Regions from separate parts of the Homo sapiens genome. Here region 2 is linked to region 1. The links are contacts of gene promoters, found by promoter capture Hi-C in blood cells and fetal thymus (Javierre and others, 2016). All regions are on one chromosome and are shown on one strand. The core of a region is centred on a gene start or on the middle of the fragment in contact, and the rest is flanking DNA. Distances in the headings are between cores, read along the strand shown. Region 1 holds the start of BAZ1B (bromodomain adjacent to zinc finger domain 1B). Region 2 holds the start of RSBN1L (round spermatid basic protein 1 like).

Evidence for each region. The method cuts DNA at HindIII sites, captures the fragments that hold promoters and counts their contacts. A CHiCAGO score of 5 or more calls a contact.
Region 2: the fragment with the promoter of RSBN1L here is called in contact with the fragment with the promoter of BAZ1B in region 1 in 1 of 17 cell types (non-activated CD4 T cells); the score reaches 8.4 in non-activated CD4 T cells.

Annotation. Positions count from the first base shown.
Region 1 is chr7:73,521,034-73,523,733 of GRCh38, forward strand. It overlaps BAZ1B (bromodomain adjacent to zinc finger domain 1B), which reads right to left and starts at 1,260. Exons shown (of 20, transcript NM_032408.4): 1 at 794-1,260. The coding sequence starts at 900. RefSeq lists silencers at 504-1,383, 1,734-1,873 and an enhancer at 1,444-1,603. The HindIII fragment of the contact is 2,091 bases long and covers 1-1,921 here.
Region 2 is chr7:77,695,167-77,697,866 of GRCh38, forward strand. It overlaps RSBN1L (round spermatid basic protein 1 like), which reads left to right and starts at 1,293. Exons shown (of 8, transcript NM_198467.3): 1 at 1,293-1,889. The coding sequence starts at 1,304. It overlaps APTR (Alu-mediated CDKN1A/p21 transcriptional regulator), which reads right to left and starts at 1,099. Exons shown (of 2, transcript NR_134254.1): 1 at 730-1,099. RefSeq lists enhancers at 388-1,283, 1,284-2,179, 1,364-1,593 and silencers at 1,114-1,333, 1,804-2,123, 2,414-2,513. The HindIII fragment of the contact is 2,163 bases long and covers 642-2,700 here.

The DNA.
Region 1 (2,700 bases), core at 10-2,509:
ATGCTTCCTTTGTAAAACATCCAATTTCATGTTCCTAAAATACAACATAAAAACTTCACGTCTTGGTTTTTTTGTTTGTTTAATTTTAACAAATACCAATCTCCTTCTAAACCTTCAAAATTTCAAACCTGTGTCTGCCCAGGGAAGGCAGGCATCAGCTCCTCCACAGGCAGTTTCCTTCCCTCCCTTTCCTCTAAGCGGGGAATCTCATTCCTAGTTTTCTGCCCCAGGGTCCTGTCAGTTCATCCCCGGCCTAAAGTCCCCTCGGGAGACGAAAAAAACGCCAAGTATCCCCGCAGAGATCGGGGTAAGACGCAGTTGAGTCTTGCACACGCCGCATCACGAGGCCGCGCGAGTACAATTTCAAAACTTAAGCTGCAGGTTTCATTTAAATTTTTAAAAAATTTTTGTAAAAATTAAAGGAGAAAACCTAGCTCCCCCTCCCCACGCCTCCTCCTCCCTCTCGGGTCCTCAAGGCCTAAAGCCAACCCGGGGAAGGTAATGGGGATGGGGGATGCGCTCCTCGCCGGCGAGGCCCCGGGACAAAGTGCGGGGCCCCGGGGGCGGCCGAAGCGGGCCCTTCTCCTTCCAGGGCCGGTGCGCGCCCCCCGCCGGATCCCCTGGAAGGATCGGCGGGCGCAGGCTGAGACTCAGCCTCCAGGCCCGCGAGCGGCCGGGGCGCGCTGACAGCTGCCCCGGGCCGGGGATGCGCGGCTGACCTGGTCTCGCGAGCCCCAGGCCCTACCCCGGCCCAGCCCGGCCCAGCCCGGCCCGCGCGGCTGGAAAAGGATACTCCCGGGTGCGGAAGGCCTCCTGAGTGTGCGGGATGGTGAAGAGCGGCTCCTCTCCGGGCAACGGCTTCACCAGCGGGAAGGGCTTGCGGCCCAGGAGCGGCGCCATCGCGGCGGCGGCGGTGGGGACTGGCGGCTGCTGGGGCCGGCCCCGCGGCGCAGCACTAGGCCCCGCGGCCCGGAGCGAGCGCCAGGCGCCCGGGGGTGGGGTGGGGGAAGGGAGGGGTGAGAGGGCGGCGCGAACTCCGGCTCCCTCACCGCCGGCGCGGCCGCGCGACAGTCATGGAGCGGAACGCCACGGCGCAGAGCTCCCGCGCACACCGCCGCGCCTCCCAGCAGCCCCCCGCCGACCTCCGCTTCGGGTCCCGGCGGCCGGCAGTCACGACTCCTCCTCAGCAGCACCGGAGGAAATTATTGAAAAATGGCGGGAGATTCCCCTCCTCCCCCGGGCCCGGCCAACGCACACACTAACTTGCTCCCCCGTGGCGCCGGTGGCGAATGCTCCAATAGGCGGAGAGCTGGTCAGCGCTCACAGCCTATTGGCTCGGAGGAGCTGCCGCTCCGCGCCTGGGTCCCGCCCCCCTGCCCCTGTCGCGTAGTTGGGTTGCAGCGCACTAGAGGGCAGTCTGAAGAGGTGAAAGGTCACGTTATGTAAGCGCCCGTGATAGGCGTGCGGGCCTCCGACGGCAGAGTTAAAAGTGGGGGACAGCGGGGGATGGAGAGGACGAGAACTCAAAGAGGTCAAGCCGGAGAAGCCCCTCGCATATACAGATACTGCGCCATCTGTCACCGACGGCGACACCGACATCCGGGCACCACTGTCCGTGTGGTGCGCCGGAGGGGGAGGGTGAGCGCGCGGCCAGGGGCTTTGTCTTTCCTCTTGGGCGCCTCCCCCTTCTTAAAGGCGCCGTGCTCGGCCACGCCCGGGGATGCGCGGGTGGGGCTGGGCTGCAGGGAGGGGTTGGCGGGAAGTGGCCCCGGGAGCTTACCCTACCAAAGGTTCTGCGGAAGGACAACGTGGGGGCCAGCTTTGCTCACCCCAGAGTTAACTTCTGGGCGGGAGTGTGGTTGAGATCTGGGTAGAAGTATACTGCTTGTTTCTAGGGGCTGGCTGGAAAGTAGAATATAGAAGCTTCTTTGGAGAAATAGATTAAAAGACGTACTTAGTTTTTTGGTTTTTGGTTTTTGTTTTTTTTGAGACGGAGTCTCGCTCTGTCGCCCAGGCTGGAGGGCAATGGCGCGATATCGGCTCACCGCAACCTCCGCCTCCCGGGTTCAAGAGATTCTCCTGCCTCAGCCTCCCAAGTAGCTGGAATTACTGGCGTGCACCACCACGCCCGGCCAATTTTGTATTATTAGTAGAGACGGGGCTTCTCCATGTTGGTCAGGCTGGTCTCAAACTCCCGACTTCAGGTGATCCGACCGCCTAGGCCTCCCAAAATTATCATTATTTTTTTTTTTGAGACGGAGTTTCACTCTTGTTGCCCAGGCTGGAGTGCAGTGGTGCAGTCTCGGCTCACTGCAACCTCTCCCTCCCGGGTTCAAGCTATTCTCTTGCCTCGGCCTCCCGAGTAGCTGGGACTACAGGTGCGCGCCACCACACCCGGCTATTTTTTGTATTTTGTAGAGACGGGGTTTCACCATGTTGGTCAGGCTGGTCTCGGACTCCTGATCTCAGGTGATCCACCCGCCTCGGCCTCCCAAAGTGTTGGGATTACAGGCGTGAGCCACCACGCCCTGCCAGAGCTGTGACTCTGGCTTTTTTTTTTTTTCTCCCATGATACTCAGCACCTGGCTCGGAACATTGTAGGTGCTAGTGAATACTATTTGAATGAATTGGATCTACCTTTTATTTTTTATTTTTTTTGTAGAGACAGGGTCTTACTTTGTTGCCCAGACTGGTCTCGAA
Region 2 (2,700 bases), core at 43-2,542, 4.2 Mb after region 1:
GCAGTGGCGCAGTCTCGGCTCACTGCAACCTCCGCCTCCTGGGTTCAAGCGATTCTCCTGCCCCAGCCTCCCCAGTAGCTGGGATTACAGGTGCGCGCTTCCATGCCCAGCTAATTTTTGCATTTTTAGTAGAGACGGGGTTTCACCATGTTGGTCAGGCTGGTCTCGAACTTCTGACCTCGTGATCCGCCCGCCCCGGTCTCCCAAAGTGCTGGGATTACAGGTGTGAGCCACCGCGCCCGGCTATAATAATTATTATAAAATTCAAATCTTAAGGCCGCACATGGTGGCTCACGCCTGTAATCCCAGCACTTTGGGAAGCGGAGGTGGGCCGCTCACCTGAGATCAGGAGTTCGAGTCCAGCCTGGCCAACATGGTGAAACCCCGTCTCTAATAAACACAAAAATTAGCCAAGCATGGTGCCGGACGCCTGTAGTCCCTGTTACTGGGGAGGCTGAGGCAGGAGAATCGCTTGAATCTGGGAGGCGGAGGTTGCGGTGAGCCGAGATCGCGCCACGGCACTCCAGCCTCGACAACAGAGCAAAACTCCGTCCCAATAAATAAATAAATAAATAAAATAAAAATCTTAAGGGTCTAGTCACAACAGTTCAAAAGTCTCCAAAGGGAGACTCTCACCTTCAAGCTTGTAAGTAATACTAAAGTTCTAGATTTGCTGGAAGTTATCTCCTTCAATGGATTACAGCACATGATCTAGCAATAATAACGTACCTTGTCACCACATCGAATGATTTTGAACACTTCCCATCAATCGACTACCGACTAACAAAAAGAAGGACTTGATTCCCGGCAATTTTTTCTCTTCTGAACTGAGCATTCCCGAAATCCAGCTTGCTGAACGCGCAGATGCAGGGTGAGAGGCACCCCAGGAAAAATGGAAGGGAAAGTGGTACAAGTTAAAACAGTCTTCGTGGCCGCAGAGACGATCGCTACCTCGGCCATGGCAGATCTGGGGGTCCGGGGCGGGGGTTCTTCCCTGATACCCACCGGGCACGCGAGTTCACGCCAGCGACAGTGGAAAGCCCTCCCCTCGCAGCGCGCTCCGCCACTAGCCGCACCCCGCCGAGCTCTGACCTCCGAAGAGGGTCCCTGTGGCGATCCCGCCCCTTCGTCTGATGTTTGTGCCTTTGATTGGCTCTTAGGTGGATCCCTCAGCGTGGCTTGCCCAATGGAGCAATGCCGGCTGGTGGCCTGGCCGCTCCGCCCCTTCCCTACCCCTCGCGGAGGGCCCGCCCCCTGCCCCGCGCCGGCTAGCGGAGGAGAGTAAATACAACAGGAGCGCAAAATGGCGGAACCGCCGAGCCCCGTGCACTGTGTCGCTGCCGCGGCCCCCACCGCCACCGTCTCGGAGAAAGAACCGTTTGGCAAGCTGCAACTCTCCTCCCGGGACCCTCCGGGTTCTCTGTCCGCCAAGAAGGTCCGGACTGAGGAGAAGAAGGCACCGCGGAGAGTGAACGGAGAAGGGGGCAGCGGCGGGAACAGCAGGCAGCTGCAGCCGCCGGCAGCACCTTCGCCTCAGAGCTATGGCAGCCCCGCGTCTTGGAGCTTTGCCCCTCTGTCTGCTGCTCCCTCCCCGTCCTCTTCTCGGAGCAGTTTCTCTTTCTCCGCTGGCACGGCCGTTCCCTCCTCAGCCTCCGCTTCCTTGTCTCAGCCGGTGCCGCGCAAACTGCTGGTCCCTCCTACGCTGCTGCACGCTCAGCCTCACCATCTCCTCCTGCCCGCCGCCGCCGCCGCTGCCTCGGCTAACGCCAAGTCGCGCAGACCTAAGGAGAAGCGGGAGAAGGAGAGGAGGAGGCACGGTCTCGGTGGGGCCCGAGAGGCCGGCGGGGCCTCCCGGGAGGAGAACGGGGAGGTGAAGCCGCTGCCCCGAGGTGGGTGCCGTGCGGGGAGGGGGAGGGGAGGGCGCCGTGGGTCCCCGCCGCCCCCTGGCGCCCACGGGGCCCGGGAAGGGGGAGCGCGGCGGCCGCGTGCGCCGGCCTGGAGGGGCTGGGAGGCGTCCGGTTTTCAGCAGAGGATTTTGCAGTTCCCAAGGGGACAGGAAATGGAGCCTGTAATTTCGGTTGCAGAGAGGGGGATGGCCGACACTCTTATTTTCTGTATCGTTTCTTCCTCCCAGTTAGTGCGCTGCAGGATTTGTGAAAATCCATCTTGAGGACTCTCCTAGGTTTGTTTGGCTAGGGAGAGAGATGGAGGGAACGGGATGGGGGAAGGGTTTGGTTTTGTAAAAGATGCTTGATTGATTGTTAGACCACTTAGACGTGGTCGCGGGAATTCGTATTTGTGACACAGCGTTCAACCCCGGATAATCCTGTCAAAAAAGGGGTGTGGAGAGAGCACTGGCGTCAGCTGGAAGCTACCAGAGGCCTGAGCTTTTCATCCCTATTAGGGAAATGAGGTAGCGTGCAGGGCCCGAAGTGCGCTGTTTCGTAAGGTACCCTCCCTGCACCCTACTCTCCGCTGCGTATTCTTAAGTGTTTTGGGTGGTCCTGTTTGAAATACCACCCTTCTGAAAGAATTTTCAGCCATATTCTTTTTTTCCCTGCAGCAAATGATAAAACCAGGAGCTTTGACGATTTTTCGCCAGATCAAGCGGCTGCAGAATGTTTGAGCATTAGAAAAAGGCGAATTCTTAAGGGTTCTTGTCAGACAGGGTCAGTTTTGTTTTTAAATGTAGGCTAGTCG